2 separate regions of the Homo sapiens genome follow, and region 1 is linked to region 2. Evidence: promoter capture Hi-C in 16 types of primary human blood cells and fetal thymus (Javierre and others, 2016). All regions are on one chromosome and are shown on one strand. The core of a region is centred on a gene start or on the middle of the fragment in contact, and the rest is flanking DNA. Distances in the headings are between cores, read along the strand shown.

Region 1 (3,597 bases), core at 567-3,066, 520 kb before region 2:
CCTGTCTCTACAAAAAATACAAAAAATTAACTGGGCGTGGTGGCGCACGCCGGTAGTCAGCTACTCGGGAAGCTGAGGTGGGAGAATCTGCTACTCGGAAGGCTGGGGTGGGAGAATCCCTTGAGCCCAGGAGATTGAGGCTTCGGTGAGCTGAGATTGTGCCTTTGTGCTCCAGCCTGGGACACTGTCTCAAAACAAACAAATAAAAAAACAAAAGTTAATCTCACTGCTTTTCTTTTTCTCTTTTTTTAGTGTGGCTATTTGGAAATTTAAAATGACATATACGGGCCGGGCGGGGTGGCTCAACGTCTGTAATCCCAGCACTTTGGGAGGCCGAGGTGTGTGGATCACCTGAGGTCAGGAATTCCGAGACCAGCCTGGCCAACATGGAGAAACCCCGTCTCTAGTAAAAATACAAAAATCAGCCAGGCGTGGTGGCAGGCGCCTGTAATCCCAGCTACTGGGGAGGCTGAGGCAGGAGAATCGTTTGAACCGGGAGGCAGAGGTTGCAGTGAGCCGAGATTGTGCCACTGCACTCCTCCCTGGGCAACAGAGCGAGACTCCCTCTCCACATACATGCGTACATACATACATACATACAATGACACGTATGGCTTATTTTGTGTAATATATTTTGTACAATATTTCGACTGGACAGCGCGCAGCTGGGGCATCTGAATGGGTGGTGGCCCTGAGAAGACATGTCTATCTGCTTATCTTTCCTGCTTCTCTGATGGCATGTGGCCTCCTTCCCTTAAGCTCTCAAAGAATCCACTGCCTCTTCCTTCTCATACTGAGCCAAACTGTTGAACTGAATTGCACAATGGGTCTTGTCCTAATTTGCAGAATAATTCAAGTTAATGGACAGTATTTTCCCTGTTGAAAAATTTTCCCTATCTGCTGTATGCTGGAGGCTACAAATAGTTGTATGAGGTTTGTCTCAGGATGAGATCATGAGTTGTTGAGGCTCAATATTATCAATATTTGTGCGTGTGTGTTTGTGTGTGTGTGTTTATTCTACAAAGAGCCCGTTGATTTTCTGCCATCCAAACGAAGTGGAGAATTCCTGCCTTTCTTCATGTTACTGTGACTTTTCGTTGGGGGTTTTACACAGACCTACACCCTCTTTCCTTCCCATTCCCCAGATTCTGTCAGTTTTTGCAAATAAGAATGGTGGCTTGTCAGCCACATTGTTCCACAATTCTTAGTTTTGACTGATTTTAAAACCTGCCAGTTGGGGTGGGTTAAATTGTCATTGTAAGTGGAAGAGAATCAATTATAGAAACTCTCAACTCCAGGGATGGTGAGAGTGACTGTTGGAAAGTTTTGAGCATTTCAGTAAAGGAAGAAAGAAACAAAAGACGTCTGTATCCTGTTGCCACAGATACCCTAGAAAGGGCTTTCTAGAGACAGTATGATGTGAGCAAACTTTTGTCTTCTGGATAACGTCTGGAAGTGTTCTGTTTTGTTTTGTTTTTTTTCTAGTGAAAATATTTTTCTCCAGAATCCTTATGAAAATTACTTAAAGTGTGAGGTGTTGGCAAATCAAGAAGAAATTTTAGATAATTTTTAAGGAGGAGAGAAGTATTAAAGTATTAATCCAGAAGTTTAAAAATTACTGCTAGTGATAACGTTTTAATTTACATGTACACAAAAGGCATATTAAATGAGGTGATTTTCGTTTATGTAAAGCAACGAGGTTACTTTTTCACAAATAGAAAGCGGGAAGCTTTATGTTTTCTGAAAAGGCCTGAATTTGGAGCAGGACATTAATCTGGCACATTTGGTAAGAAGGTGAGAGTGTGTTGGGGTTACTTGGTTGGGAAGACTTCATCGGCTGGCGGTCTTGGGTACATCGTGGTGGTATCAGTGTCCCCAGGCAAATCATTTGTCATGAAGCTTTTACATGAAATATTCCTGTTGAGTTCTTCCATACAGAGGTCATAGATAAGATGAGATGTTCCTGGGAACCACCACTTAGCAGGGCGTGGGTGCCGAGGGAGGCTCTTGGCAGGCGGAGCCTCTTCGCAGAGGGAGGCTCTTCAGGCTCTTCACAGACTTTGTATCTTACTGAATCTGAAATCTGACAGCAATTTCAAAGTGAATAGTTCCTGTGGGGGGAAGAACTCCAGCCAAAATGTAACATTACCTTCCTGCTGTTGTTTGGCATACTGTCTCTCATGAAATTTTCCTTTTCAGTAAAAGGGAGAAACTGTTTCATAAAGTATCCAATAGGAGCTTCAACAACTTTAATGTCTTATCATCTGGGTTTGCAGCCTTCTGAGGCTTGCCTTGTGCCCCAGGTGCTTTTGTAAGTGTTGCAAGAGCCAGTTAATATACTGTTGCCAATTAAGGATGACAATAATGATACTTTAACTACTTTGTAGTTGTTGTTTTAAAGCTATTAATATTACACAGGCTTCAGTCTGGGGATAGAATTGAATATGGAGTGGAATGTATCATTTTTCCTCCCCCCCACCCCCTTTTTTTTGAGACAGGATCTTGCTCTGACACCCAGGTTGGAGTATAGTGGCATAGTCATAGTTTGCTGTGACCTCAAACTCCTGGCCTCAAGCAATCCTTCTGCCTCAGTCTCCCGAGTAGCTGGCACTACAGTGTACACCACCATGCCCATTTAATTTTTTAAACATTTTTATAGAGATGGGGTCTCCTATGTTGCCTAGGCTGGTCTCAAACTCCTGGCCTGAAGCGATCCTCCCACCTCAGCCTCCTAAAATGTTGGGATTACAGGCATGAGCCACTGCACCCAGCCTGTAATTTTTCACTTGAAATGTAGGGATACCTTTTTAGGCAAAAGTACAAATGCTGTGCTAGGTGACCTCTGCACTGCCTTCACTGGGAGACTTTGGTCCTGTGTTAGTACATCTTGTAAGTAAGGCTGTTTTAATATTATTTGTATTTAAATACATTATGTTCTGGGTGGAGCAGATCCCCTTGAAAGATTTTCCCTGGAGTGATGTCCAGACTCCTGGCCTACTGCATTCCTGTGAAAGCCCTCTGCTTTGTCTGAGTTGCATTAAATGACGTCTGTTGAGCATATCTTTTTGTGTACACAAGTGCACACGCATGCGTGTGTTTCTTTCATTTCTCCTGAATGGCTTTAAAGTGCCCACCTGTTCATCAGAGCCATATTTGTCTTTCAGAGCCCAGCCCAGGGCCACCCTAGACAGATGCTCACTCCCCTCCAGGCGTCTTTGGCACGTAATGTGCAGAAGAGCCAGGTGGATAGGCTCTCAGGCTTGGAGCCAGGCTGTCTGCCTTTGAAATTGAGCTCTGCTACTTCCTAGGTGTAATCCTGGGCCAGCTGCGTCACTTATCTGTATTTCAGTTTCTTTATAGTACCTGTCACTTAAGGTTAGCAGGAGGATTAAATGACTTAATACGTATAAAGCATGTAGAACAGTGCCTGGAGTCCAGTAAGAGCTACTATTTCTGTCTCAGTATGTTGCAGTCACATTTCCCTTACCTTGATGTCTTCTGTTAATGTGAGCTAGTTTCTAAAGTTACCATGTAAGGTCAAAAGCTCATGGATGTGGATTTATTTGTCTAGTTACCAACATTGTACTAGACTTTGGG
Region 2 (3,665 bases), core at 814-3,313:
CCCCTTCCTATGTTTATTTTATTTTATTTTATTTTTTTAGACGAAGTTTCGCCCTTGTTGCCGAGGCTGGAGCGCAATGGTGCCATCTCAGCTCACTGCAACCTCTGCCTCCTGGGTTCAAGCAATTCTCCTGCCTCAGCCTCCTGAGTAGCTGGGATTACAGGCGCCCGCCACCACTCCCGGCTAATTTTTGTATATTTAGTAGAGACAGGGTTTCACCATGTTGACTAGGCTGGTCTTGAACTTCTGACCTCAGGTGATCCACCCGCCTCAGCCTCCCAAAGTGCTACGATTACAGGTGTGAGCCACCGAGCCCTGCCCCGCCCCTTCTTATTTTCATCTGCAAGCTTTGGCCATGGAGATTTGACTTAGCGGGACGTAGGGTAAGGCCTCAGCATTCATATTTTTAACACGCGCCCTCGAAGAGCTTGAGGGCCATCATAAAGGACCTTCTTATCCCTAAAGAGAGGCAGCATAGAAACACCAAGGGCATGGCAATATCACCCATCACCTCCTGTAAGGATCTGAAGATTAAGCCTCCTGAATTTGTTTCTTATTGCCACTGTGACAGATCATCACAAATTTTGTAGCTTTAAACAACATAAATGCATTATCTTACAGGTCTGCAGGTCAGAATTCTGAAAGAAGTCTCATGGGGCTAAAATCAAGGGGTCAGCAGGGCTGTGTTCCTCCTGGATGCACGAGGGGAGGATAACCCATTTCCTTGTCCATCCCAGCTTCTAGAGGCCGCCTGCATCCCTTGGCTTATAGCCTCTCCCTCCATCTTCAAAGCCAGCAGTGTGGTGTCTCCCAGTTTCTCTTCCTGTGACCCTCCTGCCTCCCTATTCTCTCTTCTAAGGACCCTCGTGACTGCACTGGGCCAACCCAGATCATCTGGGATGATCTCTGCATCTTCAAGTCCTTAAATTTGTGTATCTGCCACATTCCCACATTCTCCCTGCCCTCCATGAAAGGGAAACTGGTTTTGCAGTTTCTGTGATTCTGATCCCGGACTTTAATGGGATCATCAAAGTTCAATGAGAAGCCCCGGCAAGGCCGAGCGGGAGGGGAGAAGATGAATATTTTGGAGGCGGAGAGGGGAGCATTCCCTGGGCTAGGGAGGAGGTGGAGAGCCAAGGGTATGACTAAAACCAGGCTGTCTCCGTCTGAATGCTGGCCCGGCCTGGCCTTCTCAGCAGAGTGGCCTTGAGCAACTCAACTTCTTCATGCCTGTTTGCCCCACAGAAAATGAGGATTGTAAGAGTGAGGAATGCAAGGGTGGTGGCTCACACCTGTAATCCCAGCACTCTGGGAGGCCGACATGGGAGGCTCACTGAGGCCAGGAGTGTGAGACCAGCCAGGGCAACATGGTGAAACCCTATCTATCTCCACAAAAAATACAAAAAATTAGCTGGGAGTGGCAGCACACGCCTATAGTCCCAGCTACTCGGGAGGCTGAGGTGGCAGGATCATCTGAGCTGGAGGGGTAGAGGCTGCTATGATCCATGATTGCACAACTGCACTCCAGCCTGGGCGACAGACAGTGCCTCAAAACAAAAAGAGGAGAGAGAGAGAGAGAGAGAGAGAGAGAGAGAATGAGTGAATGTATGGGAAATAAATGAATCAATGCTTGGCACATAGGAGCTATTAGGGAACTGTTTGCTGCTGTTGCCATCTTAACAGTAAGCTGTGTGCACAGAGATCCAAGCACGGAAGTCCCTTCCACATGGTGGCTGTGGCACAGCAGTGAGTTGGCAAGGAAGCTTCCAAATGACAATGTGCGCACCCACCGGCTTGGGGAGATGAGGGCTTGGATTAGGCAATAAAACACCTGCCATCTGTATGGTTCACCTACTGCAAGAGACAGAGGACATGCTTTACAGGCAAGGCAAGGGGGTCTCTCGCCCTTCCAGCCCTGCAGCTTGGGTGCCAGGGCCCTGCTAGTTGTGACCCCTGGCCCTGTGCTGCCCTCACAGAGGAGGCTGGGCAGGGTGGGGACTGGGCGGGGCCGCAGAGTCATAGTGGGCGCCCCCTTTATATACAAGCTCCCGGGGAGCCTTGCAGACCAGACCAACAGTAACACCAAGGGCAGGTGGGCAGGCCTCCGCCCTCCTCCCCTACTCCAGGGCCCACTGCAGCCTCAGCCCAGGAGCCACCAGATCTCCCAACACCATGGTCCGATACCGCGTGAGGAGCCTGAGCGAACGCTCGCACGAGGTGTACAGGCAGCAGTTGCATGGGCAAGAGCAAGGACACCACGGCCAAGAGGAGCAAGGGCTGAGCCCGGAGCACGTCGAGGTCTACGAGAGGACCCATGGCCAGTCTCACTATAGGCGCAGACACTGCTCTCGAAGGAGGCTGCACCGGATCCACAGGCGGCAGCATCGCTCCTGCAGAAGGCGCAAAAGACGCTCCTGCAGGCACCGGAGGAGGCATCGCAGAGGTCTGCCTGCGCCCCCGCCTTGCCCTGCATGTCCCTGACCACCCCAGGCACAGGAGGGAGGCGGGGACCCACCCCACCTGACAAAAGCTCCAGCCCCCTAACCCCCGTCCCCACCCAGAGTCCCTAGGTGACCCCCTCAACCAGAACTTTCTTTCCCAAAAGGCTGCAGAACCAGGAAGAGAACATGCAGAAGGCACTAAGCTTCCTGGGCCCCTCACCCCCAGCTGGAAATTAAGAAAAAGTCGCCCGAAACACCAAGTGAGGCCATAGCAATTCCCCTACATCAAATGCTCAAGCCCCCAGCTGGAAGTTAAGAGAAAGTCACCTGCCCAAGAAACACCGAGTGAGGCCATAGCAACTCCCCTACATCAAATGCTCAAGCCCTGAGTTGCCGCCGAGAAGCCCACAAGATCTGAGTGAAACGAGCAAAAGTCACCTGCCCAATAAAGCTTGACAAGACACTCGCTGGCCTGTCGGGTTTTCTTTGCACGAATCACACAAACCTGGCTTCCCTCACGCCCAGGGCGGGTAGAGGCTTCTCTGCAGCCCTTCCTCAGAGGCAGGTAGGGCGGGAGTTCTGATGCTCTCAGGACACCTAGGAGAGGGTTACTGTGCCTGGGAGGCCACCCTATGATGCTGTCCTGTCTATTGTGCATCCTTCCATGGTGTCAAAGGCCACATTAGTCTGTCTGGATCCCCCTCCAGTGAAGAACCTGATCCTACCTCATGAAAGGAGAAAATGGTTAGAACAGATCGAGTCCTAATTAAGTCACAAAGATGCCAAGGCACCTTGTGGCCATATTTAAATGCCTACTGTGTGCCACAGTTTAAAAACACAACCCATCTTGAGTGTTGGGTGGTTGGAAGTGTAAACGGTGGGGGCAGAGGTGGGGGCACTGCTCAGTGCAGGCCACAGCTTCGAGGTGGGAAACAGGTCTGGCATGCTCCAGCAACAACTTGGTCAGCACAGAGACGGCAAAAGGCAAGGAGTAGATGAATGCAGAGTAATGGGCTGCGCTGTGTGAGGCCTGTGCTGGCTGAAGCCTCTGGAGACCCAGGCAGAATCCGATCCTTGTTGCCTGCTCTCCTCGGCCTGTGGCTGCATCACTCCTCCCTCCTGTCTGAAATCAAGGACCCTTGTGATTGCACTGAGGGACTTTCTGGACAACCCAAGATAACCTCCCCATCTCACAATCCTTACATCATAGATTCCAGGATCAGG

Evidence for each region. The method cuts DNA at HindIII sites, captures the fragments that hold promoters and counts their contacts. A CHiCAGO score of 5 or more calls a contact.
Region 1: a fragment that was not itself captured here is called in contact with the fragment with the promoter of PRM2 in region 2 in 1 of 17 cell types (activated CD4 T cells); the score reaches 5.4 in activated CD4 T cells.

What each region holds. Positions count from the first base shown.
Region 1 is chr16:11,792,427-11,796,023 of GRCh38, reverse strand. All of the region lies in intron 1 of ZC3H7A (zinc finger CCCH-type containing 7A), which reads left to right. Among named protein-coding and RNA genes, the nearest start is that of ZC3H7A, 3.0 kb to the left of the region's middle. The HindIII fragment of the contact is 170 bases long and covers 1,732-1,901 here.
Region 2 is chr16:11,274,878-11,278,542 of GRCh38, reverse strand. PRM2 (protamine 2) reads left to right here and starts at 2,063. Exons shown (of 2, transcript NM_002762.4): 1 at 2,063-2,443; 2 at 2,606-2,904. The coding sequence starts at 2,173. The coding sequence ends at 2,643. All of the region lies in intron 1 of LOC105371082 (a long non-coding RNA gene), which reads right to left. The HindIII fragment of the contact is 881 bases long and covers 1,766-2,646 here.